2 separate regions of the Homo sapiens genome follow, and region 1 is linked to region 2. The links are contacts of gene promoters, found by promoter capture Hi-C in human tissues and cell types (Jung and others, 2019). All regions are on one chromosome and are shown on one strand. Each heading gives the region's core, a stretch centred on a gene start or on the middle of the fragment in contact. The rest is flanking DNA. Distances are from core to core; before and after follow the strand shown. Region 1 overlaps MAML3 (mastermind like transcriptional coactivator 3). Region 2 holds the start of TBC1D9 (TBC1 domain family member 9).

Region 1 (6,034 bases), core at 2,190-4,689, 610 kb after region 2:
GGGGAAAGCAATACCCAGGGTTTGCGCCAAGAGGCCCCACCACACAACTTCGCTTGGGATTCTTTCCTTTTTTCCTTTTAAACTTGCGTGCACGGAGTCTTTCTCCGCTTGGCGCCCCCTGCCCCGCTGCCCGCCAACTTTGGGGGCCTGCTTAATAAGCCCAGAGCAATGGAAGGTAGCAGGGAGGTAAAAGAGGCTTAAATGGCTGGGTGGGCGGGTTCGAGGTAGGATGAGCAGCCAATGGCTTAACTTCTCCAGGAGGAAGGGGCAGTTCCCACCCCCCAAGCCGGAGGCTAGAATCCTTTCTCTTATCTCCCCTCTCCGGTTCTTTTGCTTTCCTTTCTGGGTGAGGGGAGGCCGGAAGCTTGGGAAAGGTGTGTGCCCCCCCCCCCCGCACCGCGCCGCCCGGGTGCTGGGTGGGCCAGGCGACGGGAATCCTGGAGCGTGCCGGGGCCGCGCGCCTTCGCCTGTTTCCCGTGCAGACCGCCCAGCGATCGGCGGCGCAGAGCCCGGCAGGGGCGGCCCTCCCGTCGTGCGGTTTAGAAATCGCACACGTTCCCGGTCTGTGAGTCCCCGGCGCCGGGGTGGTGCCAGTGCTGCCGTGGGCTTTCGCCGGGGGCTCGGGCCGGCGCTCGGTGACAAAGAGTCGGCTTGGGGGAGGGGAGGCGACGCCGCAGTGCTCGCTCCCCACGTCCCCCCACCCCGCACGTGAAGAGGAACAATTTGTTTATCTTGGGCTTCAAGAATCCTTCCCTCCTCCCAGTTCTCCGGGGGCGCTCAACCCCTCCTCCCTCCCCTCCCAGGTCGGCGCGATCCTGCCCAGTCCCGCCGGCAGCACCTTCCCTCCTCCTCTTCCTCCTCCCCCTCCCCTTCCTCCTCCCTTCCTCCTCCTCCAGCCACTCTTGCCCGCCTTCTTCCTCCCTTTTGGAACGTGGCCGTGGGGGAGGGAGCGGGAGGCGCTTTGTCCGCCTCGCGGCCCAGCTCAGACCCCGGGGCCGCTGGGCTGGGAGGGGTGCTGCGCCCCGTGGCCCTGCCCGCTTCATCGCGGCTGTCCCCGCCCCGCCGCGCCCCCCATGCCCCCGCGTCCCTCCTCTCCGCTCCCCCTGCGGCTGAGCCTGCCCCGAGCGCGAAGAAGGGGCCGTCTCGGTTGGTTTTGAGGAAGAACGACAGTTCGAGTCGGGGGAGGTTCTCGCTTTACAAACAGGAAACCGAAAACCACTGACACACTGTAGTTTTTCTGATTGTAGCCGGAGGCGGGGCCGGTCCCGCATCTCGACTGTAGCTCCGGTCCCTTTCTCCAACCTATTTCTCTCCCAGCCCCCGCCCCCCTAGCGCCCTTCCACGGAGGAGGAGATTCACTTTGTGAACCTGAGACTGAGAATTTAAGAGGCACTGAAGGTTTCATGCCTGCCCACCCCGCGTCCTCTTTTCGTGTATTTGTACACCCCACGCGCATGGATTGCGGAGAAATGGGCTCCTTTCGGGAGGCTCCAAAATTCCCGTGCCACAGAATCTCTCACAACCTTTGGGGATCAAGGACTGCTGTGGCGTTTACCTCGCCAGCTGGGGGACCCTGGAACAAAAGCCAGTGCCGTTCCCAGTGCCGGGTCTCTGGACACGGCAAGATGAGTAGAGTTTGCGACCAGAAACTTTCGGTGTTTGGGTTGTGTTCTCTGGTTTCCGCCCTGGTGGAGGGAGGGCTCGGGTGCGCGCGCCTGGTTTGTGATACACTCGCAGGTGGAAGCAAGCCCAGCCTCCTGACCTTACTGGGAAGAAGACAGCAAGCCCAAGCCACAGCTTACTTTTGAAAATAGAAAGATAATGCTTGCTTCAATAGACAGAGACATCAGCTGTAGATTTCATAGTGAATCCCAGTTTAGCAAATTAGCAACAAATAGACTTGAAAGATGACTGCGTGAAAATAAAATTTTCTGTCATTTTATGACAATGATTTAGCCTGTTGATTAGACTTACGCACTAATAAATGCCAGGGCTGTGTACAGAATAGGAGTGTATTTTAGCTTCAGCTGTTTCACATGCATCTCTCACTGGTATGTGTGATGAGTGTGATGAATGTAATGTAAGCCTTAACTCTTAAGCAGAGTTGCAAGTAAATTCTGTGTACCAAAAAAAAAAAAAAAAAAGAAAGAAACATGCTCTACAAGTTATATTTCCTTTTAAAATAATTAGTTTAAAAGTTAACCTTGGCTTCTGAGAGTATTTTAACAGTCTGTATTGAGGTAAAATCTCAAAAATAGAGGTTGTAAAGAAAACGTTGCTCTTCATTTTCTTGAATTGACTGCAGGATTATAGTTGTACTCCAGTGAGGCACAGAACAATTAAATGTAGTTCTCAGATTGGGCGCTCTATTTGGAAAGCCCTAAAGAAAAACAATGATCACCCACAACCAAATAATAATAACGGTGATATAAAAATAAAGATGAATAGGATTCTTTACTGTTTCATTGGTATTGTTTACTTTCTAAGGACCAATATGTCCGAAGTACTAAATATCGATTAATTATCTTTCTGCCTCGCTTGGATTAAGAAGGCAGTCTAATGAGGGCTTTGCCTCTTTTGATTTGTTTTCCTATCTTACACATTTACAAGAATGGGCATGAAAAACAACAACAAAAAAATAGCAAACAAAAAGCAGAGTGGGTGAGGGGTAAAAAATTTTCCTTGGCTCCAGGCTGCCACAGAGGGGGCTGGGTTCTGTGTGAGTCCTCACCAGCCCTGTTGATAGAGCAGGTGGCACAGACCTGGGTTTGAAGCTGCACTACCTCAGGTATTAGGTCCGTTCTGAACATGTAGTCAAATGATCCCATCCCAACCACCACCACTTTATTGACATAGTTTTTTTCTTCCCCTCAAAGACTTGGTGAAAATTATTGACTTCACCTATCAGAGAGCCTCAGTTGAAAAGATGGCTTTTAATTATTTGTGGTAACAAAAGGGGGCATTGTTTATTTGCTGTATTTGGAACTGAGGTCCTGGTTAAAATTTTAAGGCAAATTTCAATTGACAAGTACATTTTCAAGCTGAGCAGGCACATCAAAAAGCATGACAGTGCACAGTTTTCAAAATTTTAAAATGGTGATAGTCTTAGTTGACTTAGATAAGACCATATTATTTTCATGACCTCTTCACTGTATTAGCACCATCGTAACTTTCAGAGTGTGCTTAATTTATATACAGCTTACAGACTGCATAAATCTATGTGACCCCTGTTCTGAAGAGCTTATCACAAAAAATTCATAACATGCATTTAATAATAAATGCGTTATTACCGAGTATTGGAGACAACTACAACCCATCCAAAATGTTCCATCCATTCCTGGAATAGATTCAGGAAATGTCAACATATTAGTCCACTGCTGAATGTCCTTATACGTTAATCTGGCTTCCCATTTCTTACCCTGTTGAAGGTAAATTACTGGCTCTGTATCAATTTTTTTGGCAAGCTCGTATTACCAAGCTATTTCTACATCTTCCCTATGATAACCTTTTCTTTGGCTTATCCTGTTCTGCCGCTAGCATGGGTAACAGGACAGACTGTCTTTCGGAAAGCTTTCCATTGCCCAACACAGCATGCCTTAAGTTTGTGGAAAACTTTTTGAAATTTTGTTTTTTCTGTCCTTCATATGTATTTTTTTCTTTTAATTCTCAAGAAGCATTTTTTTAAGCTCCAATACATGTTTAATTCTATTATGTTATTTGGTTGTGGTATATTTTATTTAGTACTGGGCAGCCAGTGGTCAGAAAAGTAGAAGCAGAGTTAGTTAAGCATTAATCATAATCTACAAAATGCTCTTCAAGCTGAGTTCCTTCCCAGGGAAAGCCAAGTTTTCAGGAAGCTAGTATGCTTGATACTTTCTATCCTGTCTCATTAGAATTATAAGGGCAAACTTTAGAATCTTTTTTAGGATTTCTGCCACCTGATAGGAGAAAAATGGGCAGTCCTGTACATAGTTTACTGACATCTCTGGAAGAAGAAGGATGAGGAATTTAATAGTAAAATAGAGTTATATGGAGTTATTTTCTGAATATCGCTGTGAGACTAATGGCCAACTGTTGTTAAAGAAGTTTTCCTGCCCATTTGGTTGAGATAGGAATATAAGGCATTTCTCTCTCTCATGCATGCACGTGCACACACACACACACACATTCACTCATTCACTCACTCACCCTGGTGTGAGTGTCATAGAAGGGATCCAGTGTAAGAACCTGTTTTGCATGTTAAATAGTAATTCTTGGATATATTTGAAGTACTTGTGTGATTACTGTTCCCTGTTTGTTAAGTAACAGTCCTGTCTTATACTCTTGAGCTTAAAAAGGCTAAATTCTGTTGTCTTTTTCCACATTACCCATCTTGGAGAACTGTGAAATCAATCAAACAGACATCAGACTCTTATAAAGAGGAACATATTTAAAACTCACTGTCAAGATTTTCATAGTGTCTACCTTTTAAGTCTCCCAAATAGCTTTACATTTTTCACTCTATTATTCAAAGGCTGATGGTTGAGTTTTCAGATCCCCTGGCTGCTTGCTTTGTTTTTCCTTCCCCCCACCTGCTGCCAACCTTTTGGTCTTTTCAGTGATCTTTAACACCGTTATCAAAGAGTGGGAAGAAGCAATAAGAAGAGAAAAAATTTAATTTTGGTGCTCCTGACTCTCAGAACTAATGAAACAATCAGATACAATACCATTTTGGATTTAGTATGGATTTGCCTTTATTCTTACTTAGCACAAATAATAAAGACTGAGTTTCTAATTTCATTCATTCATTCAGCAGCATTGGTACATTGTCCATAGTGTTTCATGGAAGTTAAGATACTAAATCACGCTCTTGCATCCAAGACTTTGACAATATATATTCTCTGTAGATTTTCAGTATTATTCTAGCCAGATTCAAGGGCGTAACAATTTTTTTTTTTTTTTTTTTTTTTTTTGAGATGGAGTCTCACTCTGCCGTCAGGCTGGAGTGAAGTGATGCAATCTCGGCTCACTGCAAGCTCTGCCTCCTGGGTTCAAGTGATTCCCCTGCCTCAGCCTCCCGAGTAGCTGAGACTACAGGCATGTACCACCACGCCTGGCTAATTTTTTGTATTTTAGTAGAGACAGGTTTCACCATGTTGGCCAGGATGGTGTCGATCTCCTGACCTTGTGATCTGCCCACCTCAGCCTCCCAAAGTGCTGGGATTACAGGTGTGAGCCACCGCACCCGGCCAGATTTTTAAAAATCAGTATAGTCATTGGCACTAACGACAGCAGTTTCAGGCTTCAGGGTGTTATATCACCTTTCCATGATTTTTAAGGAAAATATTATAATATGCTTTACTTTCCTGTTGTTTCATACCAATTTGACATTGGTATCTGCCAAATAAGTTAATTTGCAGATGACTGCTCCAAAATTACAGTATCCCCCCACAAATTAAATTTTTATTACAAATACAGCCTGCTTTCCAGACAGATTCCAAAAATTCACTATTTAGTTTTGTGACTTGGAAATGTAGCTTCTGAAAAATCAGCTGTCACCAAGAACTGATTAATTTAGTTTAATTTTTTTGTTGTTTAAATCTAAGAAAGTTTAAAGAACAAAAGAAATAGGGTTAGATAAAATTATGCAGAAAATGGAGTTGAGGGCCTGCTGTATAATAAATACTTAAAGATCATGGGGTTCCATTCAGTGGATCAGAGAAGGAGCACACTTTTTTTAAAGTCTACTTGGCAATTCCATCTGTTAAACAGTGGAGGGGTTTTTGAGTTCCTTTCTCCATTTGGGACAGAAGCACAGCATTCGGCGTTCTCTGAGGGCCGCATGCACGCATGGATAGGAGCAGGAAGTTACTACTATGGCAAGCTGTGTATACTATTCTTGGAGAAATTTAATTAAAAAATCTCAAAAGGTGGCCGGGCACAGTGGCTCATACCTGTAATCCCAGCACTATGGGAGGCCGAGACCGGTAGATCAGTTGAGATCAGGAGTTTGAGACCAGCCTGACCAACATGGTGAAACCCCGTCTCTACTAAA
Region 2 (5,961 bases), core at 2,980-5,479:
TGGAGGAGAGAGTGAGAGATCTGAGGGACAGAAAGACACGGCTGGGTGCGGTGGCTCACGCCTGTAATCCCAGAATTTTGGGAGACCGAAGCGTGTGGATCACGAGGTCAGGAGTTCAAGACCAGCCTGGCCAAGATAGTGAAACCCCGTCTCTACTAAAAAAATACAAAAATTAGTCGGGCGCAGTGGCGGGCACCTATAATCCCAGCTACTGGGAAGGCTGAGGTAGGAGAATTGCTTGAACCTGGGAGGTGGAGGTTGCAGTGAGCCAAGATTGTGCCACTGTACTCTAGACTGGGTGACAGAGCAAGACTCTGTCAAAAGAAAGAAAGAAAGAAGGAAGGAAGGAAGGAATGAAGGAAGGAAGGAAGGAAAGAGAGAAGTGAGGGAGGGAGGGACAGAGGGCAGGAAGGAAGGAAGGAAGGCAGGCAGGCAGGCAGACAAAGACATCATCTACCTCTACCTTATCTAGGCATCTGTTGAATGCTTTTCCTCTTCAGGTGGTCTGAGACTATCCTAGGGCTTAAAACCAGTGAGAATAAATTGAAAGCTAAAAATAGTCATGTATTTCACAGAGGAACTAGTTAGATTAATTAGGTTCTCCTTATGTCATTTCTTGTCTAGGTATATTTGATTGTCTTTTTTTTTTTTTTCAAAGTCACATTTAATTGAGTAGGTAGCACTATGGGACTGGAAAGCCACCAAAACTCCTTATAGTTTCTCTAGTTTTTTGCAATGTCCTTTTACTACAGGTTATCACAAGTCATGATAATAATGGCATGATTTCCTGGAGAGAATGTGCTCTAAATCTTCCAAGAAACTAGAAAATGGCTAAGGATTTTAAAATGTTTCTTCTTTCCTCTTGGTGTCCAATCTTGTTCTCAAAGCAAATTTTTATAAGCTTGTTTTGGTTACATTTTAATCTTCACAAAAGCAGGGACTTTGTATGTTTTGTTCACTTTTTTTCACTCTGTCATCCAGGCTGGAGTGCAGTGGCGTGATCTCAGCTCCTTGCAACCTCCGTCTCCCGTGTTCTAGCAATTCTCCTGCCTCAGCCTCCAGAGTAGCTGAGACTACAGGTGCATGGTGCCACGTTTGGCTAATTTTTTGCATTTTAGTAGAGACGGGGTTTCACCTTGTTGTCCAGGCTGGTCTCGAACTCCTGAGCTCAGGCAATCCACCTGCCTCGGTCTCCGAAAGTGCTAGGATTACAGGCTTGAGCCACCACGCCTGGCCTTGTTCACTTTTTATTCCAAGGCCTAGAGTATAGTAGGCATTCAATAATTATATGTTGAATAAGTGAATGAATGAATGAATGAATGAATAAATTGTATAAGTAAATAGCACTTGGTACCAGTATATAAAAAAGGCCAAAGTAACTTACATTTTGGGGCTAGGGTATAGGTTTTGGTGTGAAACCACAACCTTAAGCAGCATGCCAAGGGCAAGCCAAAAGATTGTTGTAGGCCGGGCATGGTGGCTTCTGGCACTTTGGGAGGCCCCAAGGCGGGCGGATCACTTGAGGTCAGGAGTTCAAGACCAGCCTGGCCAACGTGGTGAAACCCCGTCTCTCCTAAAAATACAACAATTAGCTGGGCGTCGTGGCTCACACCTGTAGTCCCAGCTACTCAGGAGGCTGAGGTGGGAGAATCACTTGAACTGGGAGGTGAAGGTTACAGTGAGCTGAGATCGTGCCACTGCACTCCAGCCTAGGTGACAGAGCGAGACTTTGTCTCAAACAAAACAAAAACAAAAGATTGTTGTAGGGGAAAAGGTGTGATATCTTTCCTTCCCATAAGGGTCATAGCCAACACACCTATAACAAAAGACAGGCTAACAAGAGAAAAGCACAACACATTTGTTTAATCAAAGTTTTAGGTGACATGGGAACCTTCAGAAATGAAGACGGAAAAACCCAGGGAAACCTGTCTATTTTTTTTTAATAGAGATGGGGTCTCTCTGGTTTAATACAGATGGGGTCCTCCTGGCTCTGCCTACCAAAATGCTGGGGTTGCAGGCATGAGCCACCATGCCCAGCCTGTTTATTTTTTTGAGAGAGTCTCGCTCTGTCCATTTTTGTGCTTAGGTTCAATGAAGAGTGGGCAGCCATGTAGATGTGGTTGGACAAAAGGGTAAGATCCAATGGTAATAGACTGAGAACAGACCCAGTCTGTCTGTTCAGATTCTTCTTGGCCTCTCCGTATAGCTTTCCCTCCTCCTGGGTTTAGAGCAGGACTCCTTTGGAAAGGGGACCTACTATCCAACAAGGTAGGGTAGATAATTTCTTTATTTCTCTATTCTTTATGTCTGCTCTTACACAGAAGAGTGAGGAATGGTAATATTTCTAGGTTTTGTAGCTTCCTTTGGGAAGAGGGGTTTTAGTTTCTATGACCTGCCTTTAGTTTCCATGACTCACTTTGGGGGAGAAAGAGAGGTGGGAGACAGGAGGGCAGAAGGAGGTCAGAGAGAAACTGCTTCTGAGGCCTTTCAATCTCCTTTAGTTCAAAGTACTCAGCATGCCAAAGCACCATGCTTTGTGGTATCATTTTCCAAACCCCAACATGGTATTAAGGCACTTAGAGTTTTTAAAAATACCAATTATATCAAGTAAAAGAATACCTATGGAAACACTTCAAAAATATAAAAGTTACATGATATATTAATATAATTTTTGCATATGTATGACTTATAATCTTATTGTTTGCTTTTTATTTGCAGATTTTGTGACTGAAGGCACTGCACTGTGACCAAAAGTGCCAAATGAGTTTTTTGAGTCTGTGTTAAATACATGAGGTTTCCACTGATGCCTGGAAGAAGCAGATCAGTCTGTGTGGTAACATCAAGGGAAACTTCCATTCCTTGAGAGCCCAAGCGGTAGGAAGCGAACAGATGAAATGGCAGTCTCATTAGAATGGCTGGTGATTTGCTCATTCGACTAATTGAAGGAATTCAACAATTCAAGTCGGAGCTACAAAAGTCACAATTTTGAAGCCCACACAAGAAGGTTTCATTTGAATCTCTGCTCATTTGGAAAGGGAAAAGTCCCTAGGATTGCCCAGCATCCACAACAAAGCAGAGTCTGCTAAATTCCCATCATTTGGGAAGAGGAACTTTTTTTTTTTTTTTTTTTTTTTTTTTTTTGGCTGAACTATCCTCCAGATCTCCTGGGCGGGAGGAAAAAAAAATGGTCATCAGATATGTAGGCAGATGGGCTGTGATCACCACTGGAAGCTCGAAGTATTTGGGGAAACTGAAACTGTCTAGGGATAAAGCTGCCCTGGTTTGTGTGTTTCTGGTTTCACTGATTAAAAAAAAAATCCATCTACCAAGAGTGGATAAATTTTAAAATTCTGCCATGCCCAGTTTTCGAAGCCCCAAATGCGATATAGGAACAGCTGTGGTGTGAATTAGTTGGTCTAAGCTTTTGGGCCGCTTCCAACTTCTCTATTGCTCACGCCCTACAGGTCAAGGAAAGAAGTGATGTAATGCACTTAGCTAGGCCACTTTAATTACAATGGAATGGAGAGGGGGGAGGGGTCACAAGCGGTGACAAGTTTAGCGCATGACTTGCCCTGGGGATGCAGGAAACAAAAACATCGACGACCATTGGCTGCGTTGGCTTCCGACCCCGGGTCTCTAACCGAGCTCCAGGTCTGGAACCTTGAAACACTTTTCCTGGGAAAAGGGGTGGCGCTATCCCATAGAGCGTCAACCTTAAACACAAACAGCACACACGCACCCACGCAGGCTGGCGGCGTCCTCCCTGCTGGGATGGGCGTCGGGCCCAGTGCTTGGCACACGGTCCCCAGGAGCTTCCCCCGAAGGTTCCCCCGAAGCCAGCCACAGCTGCTCAGCTCGGCGCGCGGAGCCCGCGGTGGTACCGAGTCCGCACAAACCCGGACCCGCTCCAAGTGAGCCGCGTTGTCGTCATTCATTCGCAGTGTCCGGAGCGTCCTTCCAGCGGGGAGCTGGGCTTCCCTAGTGGCGCCTGCGGCCCCGACACGGCGCGTTAAGGCGCGGCGACTTCGGGAGCTCGAGCAGGTAGAGACGGGAGGGGCTCTGGAGCTCCAGTCGGCGCCGCGGGAGCAGCAGCGCCGGAGCCCAGCTTGGCCCTGACCGCGGGGCCGAATCCGCTCGGGTGGCCCTTAGCCCTGCCTGGCGCTGAGCCGGATCCCGGGACTGAGCTATACCACTTCCTCCTCCTCCCGCTCCCTTCCTCCTCCTCTTCCTCCTCCTCCCGCTCCTCCCGCCGCCGTGGGCCGGGAGCCGGGCTGCAGAGTGCCAGGCCGGGCGTCTGCGGCCGCGGGCTCTCGCGGGGCGGCGACGCCGCGGGGAGGATGCTGCTTGCCGCGCCCGCGTCCTCACCGTCCTCCCGGGCCGCCTGCTGGGGCTTTGTTGTGGCCCGGACGCCGCGGGCCACCCCCTGAAGTCGCCTGCCGCCGCCGCCGCCGCACCTAGCGGACGGGCGGGCGGGCGCGCGTGTGCCCAGGAGTGCGCGCCTGTCGCGGTGGTGGGTGCAGGACTGGACCCACGGGCCCATTGTGCGCCCGCCCGCGGCAGCCAGGACCATGTGGGTGAACCCGGAGGAGGTGTTGCTGGCCAACGCGCTGTGGATCACCGAGAGGGCCAACCCATACTTCATCCTGCAGCGGAGGAAGGGCCACGCCGGCGATGGAGGCGGCGGCGGCGGACTGGCGGGTAAGGACCGTGGCCGATCCCTGCAGGAGGGGAGCCGGGAGCGCTGCGGCGCCGCCCGCGGCCTGGGCTGCAGGCTCGGGAGACGCCGCCCGGTCCCCTGGGGCTGGGCGACCCGCCCTGCCTCGTTGTATGCGAGGCATCGAGAGTCGTGATGTTCAGGTTGGGCAGAGATGCTTCTTTTTTTGACTCTGTCAGGCTTGGGGCCCTCAGCGTACTGAGCGCTCTTTAAGTGGATATGTTGAGGAGAATGGGAAAGAGTGAGTCTGGGGCGGAGGGAATGTATTATCCCCTATATATTGAATGCATCATTCCCTTCCCCTCCCCCCCTTAAAAATATTGTTTTCCAAATGGAAAAGAGGGATGGAAGAAGGTTAATTTTTGCTCCACTTTCTTTACTGGCAACAGCAGGATCAGGTATAAAATGCTCTTTTGTTTCCAGGGAAGCGATAAGTAAGGAACTGATGTGGTCATTTCCTATATGAGTTATGACCGAAGAGAATGAATACGGAAACAGGAATTTTTTTGTTTCACCTAATTAGACATAAAGCAAAGCAAATTGTCTGGTTCTAGTTGTAAAAATAATTGGCTGTATAACTGCATTTTAACTATTTTTGCTCAATCACTTCTTCCCTAAACCCCCTCCCTTCAAGGTATTATTGTAATTGTTGCTGAAGCCATGTCATATCATTCAGGATAATAAGATCAGTCAGACCCATATCCAAAGTAGTGCCATATTAGAAATAATCTCGAACTCATACCATACTAGAGAAATTGGACCTTCTCCATCTCTGTGTTATTTAGAATGAACAGAACTGGAATACTTTTTACAGTGAAAAAGTTAGCAGAAGAAATAGTAGAGGTTTCACTAGAAAGGAGACTGCAAAAAAGAGATGAACTTTGACCCTCCTCAGAGTTGAGCTTATATCAACCTCATATATCACCTGGAGTTTGCACAATAGGTAAATTGTTGCTTTCAAATGCTGTGCTATGAAATAAAGATTCTTGATATATGTATTTACTTATGATTATATTTATAAACTAATTTTCTTAAGATTAAAATTCAGGTGTCATGTGGTACAATGTATACTGGTATGTTTGAAGGATCTTGATTCTACCAGAAAAGATAAATCTGCAGAGCTCCAGACCCCATTCTGGAAATACTTACTAGTGATCTGATACCAGGATTTTCCAGGTCATTTTGTAGAAGTTATCTAACTCTAAATGTTAATATGTAATTTACATATCTAATATTGGAATCAGCCC

The links. The method cuts DNA at HindIII sites, captures the fragments that hold promoters and counts their contacts. A contact is called where the count stands out against the background at its distance.
Region 1: a contact is called between a fragment that was not itself captured here and the fragment with the promoter of TBC1D9 in region 2, in 1 of the 25 tissues and cell types used here (heart left ventricle).

What each region holds. Positions count from the first base shown.
Region 1 is chr4:140,146,050-140,152,083 of GRCh38, reverse strand. All of the region lies in intron 1 of MAML3 (mastermind like transcriptional coactivator 3), which reads left to right. Among named protein-coding and RNA genes, the nearest start is that of MAML3, 5.1 kb to the left of the region's middle. RefSeq lists enhancers at 339-1,181, 1,182-2,026. The HindIII fragment of the contact is 8,266 bases long and covers 1-6,034 here.
Region 2 is chr4:140,754,653-140,760,613 of GRCh38, reverse strand. It overlaps TBC1D9 (TBC1 domain family member 9), which reads left to right and starts at 4,229. Exons shown (of 21, transcript NM_015130.3): 1 at 4,229-4,698. The coding sequence starts at 4,569. RefSeq lists enhancers at 3,707-3,756, 3,247-3,888, 3,889-4,531 and a silencer at 4,187-4,876. The HindIII fragment of the contact is 15,545 bases long and covers 2,162-5,961 here.